Linked DNA regions of Homo sapiens: region 2 is linked to region 1. The links are contacts of gene promoters, found by promoter capture Hi-C in blood cells and fetal thymus (Javierre and others, 2016). All regions are on one chromosome and are shown on one strand. Each heading gives the region's core, a stretch centred on a gene start or on the middle of the fragment in contact. The rest is flanking DNA. Distances are from core to core; before and after follow the strand shown.

Region 1 (6,794 bases), core at 1,664-4,163:
CTCTCAAAAATCAAAGCTTTTAGCAGCTCCATGAGAACTTTTTAAACCAATTCACTCTAAATTATGGAAGTATAACTGATAGCCCTTTAATTTACCTAAAGGCATTTTCACTTTTAAATGAAGTTTGTTAACCTAATTAACTTACATACTTTCAGGAAGTTTACAAATTAGAAAATCAAAATGAAAACTTTCATACAGAGTAAGAAAGGGCATATCCCAGGAAGAGAAGATTGGAAGCTGGAGTCTAGCATATGTATCCCACTCACCTAGGCATGTAATCATACACCTTATAATCACTTGGTTCAATATTTGATTTTTTTTTTTTTTTTTTTTTGAGACAGAGTCTTGCTCTGTCGCCAGGCTGGAGTGCAGTGGTGGGATCTTGGCTCACTGCAACCTCTGCCTCTTGGGTTCAAGCGATTCTCCTGCCTCAGCCTCCCGAGTAGCTGGGGCTATAGGCGTGCACCACCACGCCCAGCTATTTTTTTGTATTTTTAGTAGAGACGGGATTTCACCATGTTGGCCAGGATGGTCTCGATCTCTTGACCTCGTGAATATCTGATTTTTTTCAGTGACAACAAAGCTGGTGCCCAGAGACCAAGGTTAACCACTCATACTACAGTACTATACAGCCTCCTCTAAGGTATTCCTGCATTTCATTTCACTCCAGACCTCTAAACCCATGGGTTCCCTACAGCCTAACTTTTGCACAACAGAACTTAATAGTAGGGGTCCCTGGACTTCTGTGGAAAAAGGAAGTTGCATGTGAGGTGGGAATTTGAAAGAAGAGTATGAATAGTTTAAATTCCAGAACTGCCTTGGATTTCTAGATGTCGTATGTAACTCCAAAACCAAACAATAGACATGCTTAAGAATATTCACAATGTCCCTAAATTAAAGCATATGTTTATGCTTCTCTTATGGGGGAATAAAGTGGTTTACAGGCTTCTGGTCAATTCATAGGTCATATTGTTTACTTTTATTTAAAATTAAGTTAGGTCTGCCTTTTTAAAGGTAAGAAAAGTTAAATTTTAGACGAAAGTCTAAATTTGTTACATTCAAAAGGAATTATGTATTAAATTCAAAAGACAATTTAAATTCAAGTTCTATTTTTTTCTGCATGTGCTTTAAAGTTGAGTTATATACACCTAAACAAATTAAAAATTATTCAACTGGCATATACATTGTAAACGAATATCTCATTTAGGAACCAGATGATACTTTATATATATTTACACATATGTTTATATATATACACACACACATACATACATATATATTCAAAATACAATCAGGCACTAGACAAAATAGTCATATTGTTGGTATTACGATTTTATAAGTTTGTTTTGTTCTGATTTGCATTTGAAAATTAGATCAGCCAAAACTTGATGGCAAATAGTCTGATTTACAGCCCAACTATGACAGTCAAAGGAGACACCAGAATTACCCGTCACTAAATCCCATCACCAGTATTACCAGGGAAGTGGGTGAGGACTGTCAAGGGCATTACAGGTAATGGAACAGCAACACACAAAGATTTGGGGATTTTAACAAACTAAAACCAGTATTTCACGAACACCTAATAAGGACAAGATCACAACCTATCCCCACATGGTCAAATTAACTTGGAAAGGAGAAAAACTTCACTCTGACATCGATTGGTACTGCCTTCTTTGGGGAGGAAAAAAAGCATTTTTATACTCTGAACTCTGTCGTTCTCATAGACAAAGTTATAGCAGTGTTTGCAGAGAGTAGGGAGTATCCCATCCACCACTTATTTCTTTCTCATATCTACTCAGTAATTCAATACAAGAAAGAAAAAGATAACCAGGACTTAAAGCAAAAACAGAATTCAGTTCCATGCTCCTCCCAAGCCTTATTATTTCCAGGTGTTATAACTGGGAGTTCCGCGGACAGATTTGAGTTCTACTTCCGCTCCTTTAACCCCCTATTCCGAAGAGTCCAAGAGCAGCAGCAAAGAAAAAGACCAACTCGAAAGTGGGGAAGGGATGTTGGGGTTAAAGAGGGGAGTTAAATAACCAGACCTTTAGTGAAGAATAAAGAATTCAGGCTGTAGTTTGTAGAAATAAGTTATTACAGGCCTGTAAAGTCTGGCGCTGGGTAAAGCCCAAGAGGCTTTCCCTAACTCCAAAACGGCGACCTTTAAAGTAAGGGAGGGTTGGGGCACCACAGCGGCCGGATTTCTAATTGTGGAAAGTTTAAACAAATTTGTCCCTCGGGGAATGGGGGAAGGGAGAGAAGAACAAGTCTGGGCTCGGCCGGGGAGCGTGCGGAGTCTGCACGCCGCGGCCGTCGGTCCAACGCGGGGAGGCTCAGGGATTTTCGGCAGCAGCGACTTCATCCACCCCGGACCGCCGGCTGGAGGACGTGCCTGCAGCCGGCGGGTACCTGCGGCCAATTCGGTGGAACGAGGACGCGGACTGCGAAGGCAGGTGGGTCTGGCACGAAGGGGCAGGAGTCCTAGGCTCTGGGTGGAAGTTGGGGGTGGGACGGCGCCGGGAGGCCGGGGAGGCAGCGGCGAAAGGCGGCGGGCGGCTCTACTTACTCGGCTGTACCAGATGCTGAGGCGGGCCGCGGCCAGCACGGCGAAGAAAGCCCTCTGCGGGTCGGACTGAACGTGGAAAGGCGCCTCGGCCGGGCTCCCCAGAGGGCACAGCAGCCTCTTGGGCCAGCCGCTCAGAAAATACATGGTCCGTGCGGAGCCCCCGGCGCCCCCAGTTGCGTCCGTCACACTCAGCGGCCCCGGGCTGGTCGCCCACCTCCCACACCGCCACCGGCCGAGTCGGCGGCGGCGGCGGCGGCAGCTCGGGGCATCTGCCCGCTGGCCTGGCCGGGCCGGGCCGACGCAAGGCTGCGCGACGAAGGCACCCCCAAGCTGACGGGGCCGAGTGTGGGGGAGGGAAGGGGAGGGAGAGTAGGGACACAGAGAGGGCGGGAGGAGCGCGGAGGCCCGCCCCGACCCCGCCCCTTCCTCAGGCCGCGCGGGCGTCACCACGCCGCGCCGCGTGGGTCGGGCCGGGGAGGGCCCGCGCGCGCGCTCTGGAGACTCCTGCGGTCTCCCTAGCTGTTTCTTGAAGCTCTGCATAAGCCTCGCCCGCGGCCGCCGGGTTGCGTCCGCACTTCTGCGCGCTGGCCCCTCCCTTGCTCCTCTCCCTAGCAGTCTCCAGGGTTTTACCGGGAGGACCTAGGCAACGGCCTGAGACTCCGAGGCAAGTGGGGCGAGTCTAGGGATAACGCAGCAGCAAGGCTACTGGGCCGGTGGAACACGCCCTGGCCTGGCCAAATTGGACCTCCCTTCCGGATTGGCGGGGTCTCGGTGGGGGCGGGCCGGTTGCCGGGGGGAGCTGGAGTCACGTGACGGCCGGCGCGGTTTCCCACTTTGGGCTGCCGGCCGCTGTGGCTGTGGTGGGCGGTAGGGGCTTTTACCGTGTGAGCTCCTTTAATGCCGGGGTCTGCAGTGAGAGCTGGTGATGAAGCTCCTGCCGGTGTGGAGCTTACATCCCTAAGGGAGCGTTTATTTAATCAGTAAATAAACCACTCACCATGAAAGTATTGAGTTCTGTCTCCTGCCTTTCAGGAGTTCTAAATCTATGTCTTTGAAATCCATTTCCATTCGTCTCAGCCTTACCAGCCATAACTTTAGATGAGAGGAGGCTATCTCTTTCGTGCTGCAAAAGGCTTGGACTTAGTTTTAGAACTGGAAGGGACTGGTGATAGCGTAGGTCCATATTTAGCTTTTGGACCCCAGGTATCACCTTAGCTGTAACTTTCAACGGATTGACCCAGTGGTAACGTCTGAATAGAAGGAGGGTTGAGGGGATATGGTGTGGAATGGGGGAAGGAGGAGTCTGAAATAGAAGAAAGATTTGCTTCTCATTGTCTACCTTTTTTAGTACAGTTTGAATTTTTCCATATGTTTGTATTACTTTTTCAATTAAAAAGCCAGGTTTAAAAAATGACCCCACATTAAAAAGTAGCAACGTAGGCGGGGTGCTGGGGCTCACGCCTGTAATCCCAGCATTTTGGGAGGCCGAGGCGGGCAGATCACTTTAGGTAAGCAGTTCGAGACCAGCCTGGCCAACATCGTGAAACCCCCGTCTTACTGAAAATACAAAAATTAGCTGGGCGTGGTGGCAGGTGCCTGTAATCCCAGTTCCTCAGGAGGCTAAGGCAGGAGAATCGCTTGAACCTGGGAGGCGGAAGTTGCAGCAAACCAAGATCCCTCCACTGCACTCCAGCCTGGGCAACAGAGTGAGACTGTCTCAAAAAAAAAAAAAAAAGTAGCAACATAAACAGAAAAAAGGAAACAAAGAAACTTAATTCATATTAGATATAGCATTGTAGCTGGTATTCATAACCAAATATGTAACTTTCTGTAATTTTTCTAAACATTCACTGCATTCCCTGGAAGGTGATGATAGAATCCTGTATTCCTCAAATGGAGGTTGAAACTGCCTCACCACTCACCAGCCTGTTGCGATCAGATTGTCTCCTTGGCGTCTACCCTCCCCCAGTCCAACACAGCAGCCTGGAACATAGTAAGCATAGTAAGCTGGCAGTATTTGTCAGACAAACCGTGGAGGAAACCCTGATCCAGCTGAGCTACACCATTAGACAAAGAGGCCCAGAGAGGTTTCTTAACTTGCCAATTTCAAATTGTAGAATAACAAAGTTGCATCATACTTTCATCTTAGATTCAGTTATGCACTTGGCAGAAAGAGGAAATGAAAATGTTCTAGTGCAGCAATTTTGCTGGCAGTGTTACTGAATGTTTGTCCCAGCTGTCTCTCAGAGAGTCTTTGTTCTCATGTGTCTCAAGTTTGTCATACTGTGCTCATGGGCAATTTAAGGAACTTCTAAGCAATTTTTATTGCACTCAATTTTAACCTTACTTGCTGACTTTAGAAGCTTATTCCTCTGCCACACTCCTGTGTAGCACTTAAGATTCACAAAATAATTCCAAATGCTTGTCTTGATTTAATTCATAGTAAACATTCAAGGTGAGTGACATTGGTGTGATGTTGTTATTCTCACTTTCTCAAGTGAGGAAACAGGACAGGTGTGGTAGATGTGCCTGAATTCACATGGCCTGAAAAGAACTGATGTTCTTTCTACAGATCCAGTGTGATTTCTTTCTTTTTTTTTTTTTTTGAGGTGGAGTTTCGCTCTTGTTGCCCAGGCTGGCGTGCAATGGTGCCATCTCAGCTCACTGCAGCCTCCACCTCCTGGGTTCAAGCAATTCTCCTGCCTCAGCCTCTGGAGTAGTTGGGATTACAGGCATGCACCAACATGCCTGGCTAATTTTGTATTTTTAGTAGAGACGAGGTTTCTCCATGTTGGTCAGGCTGATCTGGAACTCCCGACCTCAGGTGATCCGCTCACCTCGGCCTCCCAAAGTGCTGGGATTACAGGCGTGAGCCACCGCACCCAGCCTCCTGTGTGATTTTTTTAAAAATTTAAGGTTTGGCTGGGCGCGGTGGCTCATGCCTGTAATCCCAAAACTTTGGGAAGCCAAGGCAGGCGGATCATGAGGTCGGGAGTTTGAGACCAGCCTGGCCAATATGGTGAAACCCTGTCTTTCTGCTAAAAAAAAAAAAATACAAAAATTAGCCAGGCATGGTGATATGCACCTGTCATCCCAGCTACTCTGGAGGATAAGGCAGGAGAATTGCTTGAACCTGGGAGGCAGAGGTTGCGGTGAGCCGAGATCGCTCCACTGCACTCCAGGCTGGGTAACAGAGTGAGACTTTGTCTCAAAAAAAAAAAAAAAAATTAAGGCTTATGGCATCCCTGCATCAAGTAAGTCTATTGTTGCTGTTTTTCCAACAGCATATGCTCTTTAGGCTGAACTAAATTGTGGTAATTGCTCTGGACAGTGAGAGGGAGTGGGGGAAACCTCTAGGTCTTTCTCCCTGGCGGGGAGAAAAGGAAATATCTGACTCTCCAAAACCCTATACTTGAGAGTTCCCCTATTGTGACAAAAATGTTATTGGCTGGATTTTTCAACATCATTTCTTTTTCTTTCTTTCTTTTTTTTTTTTTTTTTGAGACAGAGCATTGCTTTGTCACCCAGGCTGGAGTGCAGTGGTGCAATCTTGGCTCACTGCAACCTCCGCCTCCCGGGTTCAAGTGATTCTTGTGCCTCAGCCTCCTGAGTAGCTGGGACTACAGGCATGCACCACCACGCCTGTCTAGTTTTTGTATTTTTAGTAGAGATGGGGTTTCATCATGTGCCAGGCTAGTCTCCAACTCCTAGCCTCAAATGATCCACCAGCCTCGGCCTCCCAAAGTGCTGGGATAACAGGTGTGAACCGCCGTGCCTGGCTTCAACTTTCAAATATCATATTTTAACTTTATTTTGTAAAATATACTGACAGTTCTCATGCCTTAGGTCTTCTCCTCCTTTTTCTACTAGTTTCCACCACCACTCCTGTCAAAATTTTTGGACTCTGTTCTAAGATTAAGCTTATGATAAAAGTTAGTAGGGGGCCGGGCAGGGTAATCACGCCTGTAATCCCAGCACTTTCGGAGGCAGAGGTGGGCGGATCACTTGAGCCCGGGAGTTTGAGACCAGCCTGGGCAACATGGTGAAACCCTGTCTCTACAAAAAATCAGTCGGCACTGTGGCATACACCTGTGGTCCCAGCCCCTTAGGCGGCTAAGGCAGGAGAATTGCTTGAGCCTGGGAGGCAGAGGTAATAGTGAGCCAAGATCATGCTATTGCACTCCCACCTGAGTGAAAGGAATGAAATCCTGTCTCAAAAAAAAAAAAA
Region 2 (6,794 bases), core at 2,439-4,938, 1.0 Mb after region 1:
CCCATCTCCACCCTGCTGCTGTCTCTGTATCACCTGACCCTCCACAATGGTTGCTGCTCAGTAAAGAGGGTTTTTTTTGTTTTTGTTTTTGTTTTGACATGGAGCTCTGTCACCCAGGCTAGAGTGCAATGGCGCAATCTTGGTTCACTGCAACCTCCACCCCCCAGGTTCAAGTGATTCTCCTGCCTCAGCCTCCTGAGTAGCTGGGATTACAGGTGTGCACAACCACACCCAGCTAATTTTTGTATTTTTAGTAGAGATGGGGTTTCACCATGTTGGTCAGCCTGGTCTCAAACTCCTGACCTCGTGATCTGCCTGCCTCAGCCTCCCAAAGTGCTGGTATTACAGGCGTGAGCCACCGTGCCCGGTCGCAGTAAAGAGTTTTTATAAATGCATGTTGAATATGCATTGATTATGAATGCATGTAACAAGGCAACTCTAGAATTCAGATCTGTGGCAAGTAGTTAGCCACATTGTGGGACATCATCGTTTCTCATATATTCTTTTCTTTTCCATTCAAGCCCAGAATAATAATCGCTCTTCCTTATGACATGCGGCCTGAGTGCTGAGACTAGTACACATACTTCACATGTATTAAACAAATTCATATCTAATTCTCAGGACAACCCAATGAGATAGGTACTATCATTAGTTCCATCTTACAGATAGGAAAACTGAGGCATAGGTTAGGTCCCTTGCTCAAGGTGACATGGCTAGTGAATGGTGGAGCTTTATTCTCTTAACCACTACATTCTATTGCATTTTCAAAGCTAGAGTGTAATCTTACATGGAAATCCATGTCTCCCCATGTGTGAAGGAGGGCCCTTTGGAACCCAAGCAGAGTTCGTGGGCATTGGCCTTTGGAAGGCTCCCACTAGGATCCTATAGCTTTGTCCTGTATAGTCCTCATGTCAGCAGGATCAGAATAATTATGCGTCTTTCTAAACAATAAAGGAGTGTGGGATGACCTGCTAAGTTTTCACTGTAGTCAGGCTCCTGAAAGTCTGTTTTGAGGGTCATGCATGCTTTACAGAACAAGTTGGCTTGCCTTAGGAATGGCCAGGGCTCCCCACCTTTAGCACAGAGGAATGTGCAGGACAGCTCAGTAATGGCCCATTCTGGAGGCTTCTACCTTAGAACGTTCTGCTTGCTAGATTAAAGGACGGATTCTGGGCCATTTACTCTCTGGTTACCAAAATAATTGCCGTCTAGGCAATTATTTAGGTGGTTATACGGAACATAGCCCACATGATTATCAAATGCCAAATTACATTGAATTTCAACATGGGTAATATCAAGTTACATAGAGCCCTGAACCAGCTGATATGTGGACATTGATGTGGGGGGATAGAGAGAAGGTAAGAAAAGAAAAAAAAAAAACGTCAATTCTTTCTTGGAAAATAGGTTTCCCACACAACAGGAATTCCCACCCAGTAGTTTGGCATACGCTTAGAATACCTTCTCTGGAAGTCTCCATACCATCCTCCCTGACCCCGCTTCTTGAGTCATGGATTCCTGGAGAGGCTGGGATCCTGGAGGGTCATTTTAGTGAAGCTTTAGTGATTGTGAAAAACCCAAGTGACTCTGGCTAGTCTTAAGCAAACGGGGCATTTATTTGAAAGATGCTGAGCATCCATCTCAGTGAGTCCAGGAAAGATCCAAACAGGCAAGATCAAATAGCTAGAACAGGACAGCCAGAGCCACTCCTGTGGGTTGGGAGGACAGACCCCAGGCAGGAGGCATCCCCCACACACAACCCAGTGGCTCCCACTACGTGTCCCAGTCCCGGCTTTTCTTGAGGACTCTCTTCTAATGGCAGCACCAATTCCTGTCCCTCCCCTTCTCCATATCTGTTTCACTGCCAGGTCCTGGCTCCCCAGCGATCTCGAGATCTCAGGGAGATGAAAAAGTAGATTCTTACCACAAAAAGGTCAGGGATTCTTGAGCCAAAAACAATGAGTCCCATTGTCTGACCACGTAGAGGGAGAGAATGGGTGGAAGAAATGGGTTGAAGGGGTTGGAATACATCTATTTCTGGATCTTTTGGGACTTGGTACTTTTGGTATAAACAGAGTATCCCTTGTATATTTAAAATTGGTGAATTTTACCACACAAAAACCAAACATCCAAAAAACCAAACAAAAAAAAAAACCTCCCGTAAAGAAACCCCTCAGATTATCCCTAGTTCTCTTGGAAGGCATAATTGCCGTGAAATCCCGGCCCCCAGTGTGCAGTGCCAAATTACAGAGCAAGACTCCATCAAAAAGAAAGGAAAGAAAGGAAGAAAGAAGGGAGTGAGGGAGGGAAGGAAGGAAGGGAGGAAGGAGGGAAGGGAAGGAAGGAAGGAAATTTGTTCAGTAGAATATAGTTAATTGGAACACGTTTAACAGCTCAACTGAATAACACCTATTTTGGCACATTTACTATGTAGCAATGCTAACTCTTCACTATAATAGTAAGAGGTAGATACTCTGTCATCATCCTGATATTTTACAAAGACGTCAAGTAAATTGTCCAAGGTCACACAGATGCTCACTGGGTTATTCTGTTGTGGGAATCTGGGGAAAAAGCTCAGAGACTAAGTGATCCCAAGGCATAGCTACATGCCAAGATTGGGGTAGTATGACATTATCTTTTTCTCCTTACTTGTATTGATTGTTTGCCTTTTTCTCAATACCACATGTAGAATGTGATGTTTCAAATTTTGCAGGGGAAATTAATGAAAGCTTAAGGAGAATCATGAAGAGCTCACTCACTGAGACAATTGAAGCATCCTTAAAGAAATGAACACTTTTTGTTGTCTGTGTTGAGTCACTGATGTCTAATCCCCTTTAAACCAAACCCTGTACTCAGTCTTTTGTGCCCAGGTAAGAGTTGTTGATTAAAGTGTTTGCTGTTTGGGGGCTAACATTTTCTTGTCAAGCTGGAAAATTTGTGTTTTTGCATGTTTGTTTTGAACATGAAAGAGAAAGCGCTGTAGTTGGGTGGCAGGTGCTTATCTGAACACTTCCCCTCTCTCTCTCTCTGGCTCTCTCTGGCTCTCTCTGTCTCTCTCTCTCAAATTAATTATATATGAGCTAGAGGAAGTTGCTATTCACAGGAATAACCTGATAAATCCTCCAGGAAAGACTATCAACCTGACTTTCTCTTTTCGGTAGATCCGTTTTTGTTGTTGTTTGTTTATTTCTTAGTGTTAGGCTTGATTTACGTGAAGTCCACTAAAAACCTTGGAAAAGAGAGCATTACGTCTGGGTAGTTCAGATCTTGTTTTAGATGTTGAATGTCTGTGATAAATTTGTAAGAGGAGGCTGGCTCCTCTGGAGCGTAGTTTAAACTGCTCCTTCTGTTTCCTACTCCTTCGTTCCAGCAATTCTTTGTAAATTTAGATGAGGAACAAAACCTTCCTCAAATATTTCTCCAAAAGAACTACACATTAAGTAAATAGGTTCTACAGATAGGACTGCCAATGCCAGGTTTTAAAGTTAGTTAGGAAGGTGCATCTATGAAATGCTTACACAGTGTGAGGGAGCAGGAATAGGAAGGGGCTGGGATAAAGGGAGACTAGAGGCACATTTGTCTTCATTGATACAGACCCAGAGAAGAGGGGCCTGAAAATGGAAACTTATTTCCCTCCTTCATAGTGTAAGCATAGCATTTTCCTCTACCAGCCCTACTATAGTGTGAATGTTTGTGTCCCCTCAACATTTGTATGTTGAAATCCTAACCTCTAAGGAAATGGGGCCTTTTGGGAGGTGATGAGGTTGTGAGGGTGGACCCCTCATAAATGAGATTAGTGCCCTATAAATAGGCTCAAGGGAGCTCGTTTGCCCCTTCCACTGGCGAGGAGACAGCGAGAAGGCGCCATCTCTGACCCAGGAAGAGGGCCCTCACCAGATTCTGCATCTGCCAACATTCTGATCTTGGACTTCCCAGCTTCCAGAACTGTGAGAAATGAATTCCTGTAGTTTGTAAGCTACCCAGTTTATGACATTTTGTTATAGCAGCCTGAATAGAGTAAGACACTACCCTAAAACTTGTTCAGTTTTTAGAAGATTCAGTGAGAGCCAAGTTTTCTTTTCTCACTGTAATCATAGGGATTGGTTCATTAGGTAAATTAAGAAAATGAAATTAAAAATTAAAACAGAAAAGGAACTCCAAAAACAAAAACAACAAAACAAAATTCATTTATCCTCTTCTTAGAATTTCAGCCAAATAAAGGTATATCCAAGTTGAACCTCCCAATCTAAAAATCTGAAATCTGAAATGCTCCAAAATCCAAAACTTTTTGAGCACCAATATAACACCATAAGTGAAAAATTCCACATCTGACTGCATGTGGCAGGGTGCAGTCAAATGCATTCGAAACTTTGTTTCATGCTCCAAATTATTTAAAATCATGTATAAAATTACCTTCAGGCTACCTGTATAAAGTGTATATAAAACGTAAATGAATTTCGTGTTTAGACTTGGGTCCTATCCCCTATCCTGAAGATACTTCATTGTGTTTATGTAAATATTCCAAAATACAAAAACAAAAACCAAAACCCAAGTTTAAAATACTTCTGGTCAGTCCCAAGCACTGAAGATAAGGGAGACTCAACCTGTATCACAACCAGCATTCCACCTTGGCAAGGCCAACAGCAAGCTTAAATTACATATGCTAATATGTTCTCAGTCTCTCTGAAACTATGGTTGTCAATTTGTTGTTTTGATGTTACCTCTAAGTAGTCATCAAAAGTAAGAAAATATTGTGTTACATTAAGGTTACGCTATAAGTCTCAGGAGAGGGCTGCTTACGTAAGCAGCTAAAGGAAAGCAGCACTAATGAATTGGTATCCCATTTCAGTTATTGTTAAAATATACACCATGACATTCAATATTCAGTGTTTTTTGAAATGGTTTAAGCATAACTCTTTAATAAGATCTTAAATGCCCATTCTTATTTAAAGTCATTTTTGGTTTTCACACTAAATTACGCTTTTTTTCCCTTTACTTTTGCATCTATTAACTCTATTCCTTAAATTATTATTATTTTTACTTTTGTTTCTCAAGGAGTTATCTCAATTTTGAGGAATCATGCTGGGGCAAGGATTGCAGTTGAAGTATTTTGCTTTTGGAGTGTATAATAGTATGAATAATTTTGTGATGTTTTGGGGTTTGGATTACTTTGGGAAGATCTGTGTCATTAAACATCATAAAAAGAATTCCCATCTGTCTTGCTTCAGTTTATAATTCCTTTCTTGATTTTTATGGTTGCAGATCTGTCAAAGCCTGGAGCATATTTTATGGGCATGTTTCATGGGGTCTTGGTTTGCAGAGGCTCCTAAGAAAATCTCCTTTGTGGAACCTAGGCCCTCCAAACAAAAGCTGCTGTACAATGAGGCCAGTTCTCTGTGGTCACCTGACTGACCCAAAGTTAGCTGAAGCCTGTAGGCCATGAATTATAAAAGAGATTTTTAAAAAATGAGAGTGCAAATGATATGTTTGACATAAAAGAGGTGGCGGGTTTTAGGTGTAATTTGAGAAGACTGATGGGTATGTGTGTGAGTTCAGCCCTAGCACCCAAATGCCAGGCTACTCTCAGTATAGCCAGTACTCCCCTGAGTTGGTCCATCAAAGGAGCCCGCTGGGCTCTCTGGAGGGCAGCCTGAGGAACAGGATATGCTCTGTAGTCCATGCTGTGACCAGAGAACCCACTAGTACCACCGGATGGGACTGCTGTCTTTCTCTGGTTAGGGGACCCCTCCTAGCACTACTTAGCGGACCTGCAGGTCTTAGGGAGACCTCTTCTCTCTTCCCTTGTGCTGGGAACCCTGCCAACAGTGATGAGAGCCCCAACCCTTTGCTCCTTTGGCCTGGGAGCCCCATCCTCCACACTGAATCTAGGGGCACCAAATTATGGCAATGAAGTTACTTTGTTTATCAAAGGAAAGAACCTATGCTTAATTTCACATAGGGAATTTGGTCAAAACAGGGTCATGTCTAGGACAGGAGCTTTTACATGGTGCAGATGGGTCCTTTTCTTGATGGCTGAGTTGATGGAGCTTCTTCAACAAAATGAGGAGTTTCTAGTCCAAAATTTTTCCTTGGGATTCTGCGTCTTTTAGAGTGATCCATTAGCTCCGCCCACCTCACCCCCCACGCCCCACCGTGTGTGTGTGTGTGTGTGTGTGTGTGTGTGTGTGTGTGTGTGTGTGTGTATTTTGTTTTCTTTTTTTATATATATAAAAAATAGAGAAGGAGTCTCCCTATATTGACCAGGCTGGTCTTGAACTCCTGGCCTCAAGTGATCTGCCGCCTCGGCCTCCCAAAATGCTAGGCTTACAGGTATGAGCCACTGCGCCCCTCCGAGTACCTGGATTTAAATCCTAGTTCTGCCATTTACAGGCTGAGTGCCTTGGACAGATAATTTAACCTCTTTGTGTCTCAATGTCCTTATGTATAATATGGAGGTAATAATAGTATCTGTCTAATAATGTTATTGTTGGTAGATAATACATTTAAAGTACATTAAATCAGTGCCTGGCACAAAATGAGCACTCAGTGAGCATTAGCTATTCTTATTCTCATCTCATTTAATTTTTTGAGGAAAGCATTGCTCCCCCTATTTCTTGCTAAGGACACTGAGGCTCAGAAAAGCAAGCGTCAGAGCCAGTTTGCAAACCCTGCTCTGTCTTGTTTCCAAACCTCAGGTTCTCTGTACCACTTCCTGTCACCCCTTTGCTGCCACCTGGTTGGCCCTGAGGCATCACAGATAATTCAACTTAAAGGGTTTGAAAAACATGAACTCAGAA

What was found. Contacts are between HindIII fragments. The CHiCAGO score rates a contact against its expected background, and 5 or more counts as called.
Region 2: a contact is called between a fragment that was not itself captured here and the fragment with the promoter of RIC1 in region 1, in 1 of 17 cell types (fetal thymus). The highest score is 7.8, in fetal thymus.

The regions. Positions count from the first base shown.
Region 1 is chr9:5,625,226-5,632,019 of GRCh38, reverse strand. RIC1 (RIC1 partner of RAB6A GEF complex) reads right to left here and starts at 2,913. Exons shown (of 26, transcript NM_020829.4): 1 at 2,567-2,913. The coding sequence starts at 2,710. INCR1 (interferon stimulated noncoding RNA 1) reads left to right here and starts at 2,293. Exons shown (of 3, transcript XR_007061406.1): 1 at 2,293-2,453. RefSeq lists enhancers at 2,093-2,593, 4,504-4,723 and a silencer at 2,614-3,153. The HindIII fragment of the contact is 4,913 bases long and covers 19-4,931 here.
Region 2 is chr9:4,596,726-4,603,519 of GRCh38, reverse strand. It overlaps SPATA6L (spermatogenesis associated 6 like), which reads left to right. Exons shown (of 12, transcript NM_001353486.2): 12 at 2,711-5,204. Among named protein-coding and RNA genes, the nearest start is that of PLPP6, 62 kb to the left of the region's middle. The HindIII fragment of the contact is 1,919 bases long and covers 2,729-4,647 here.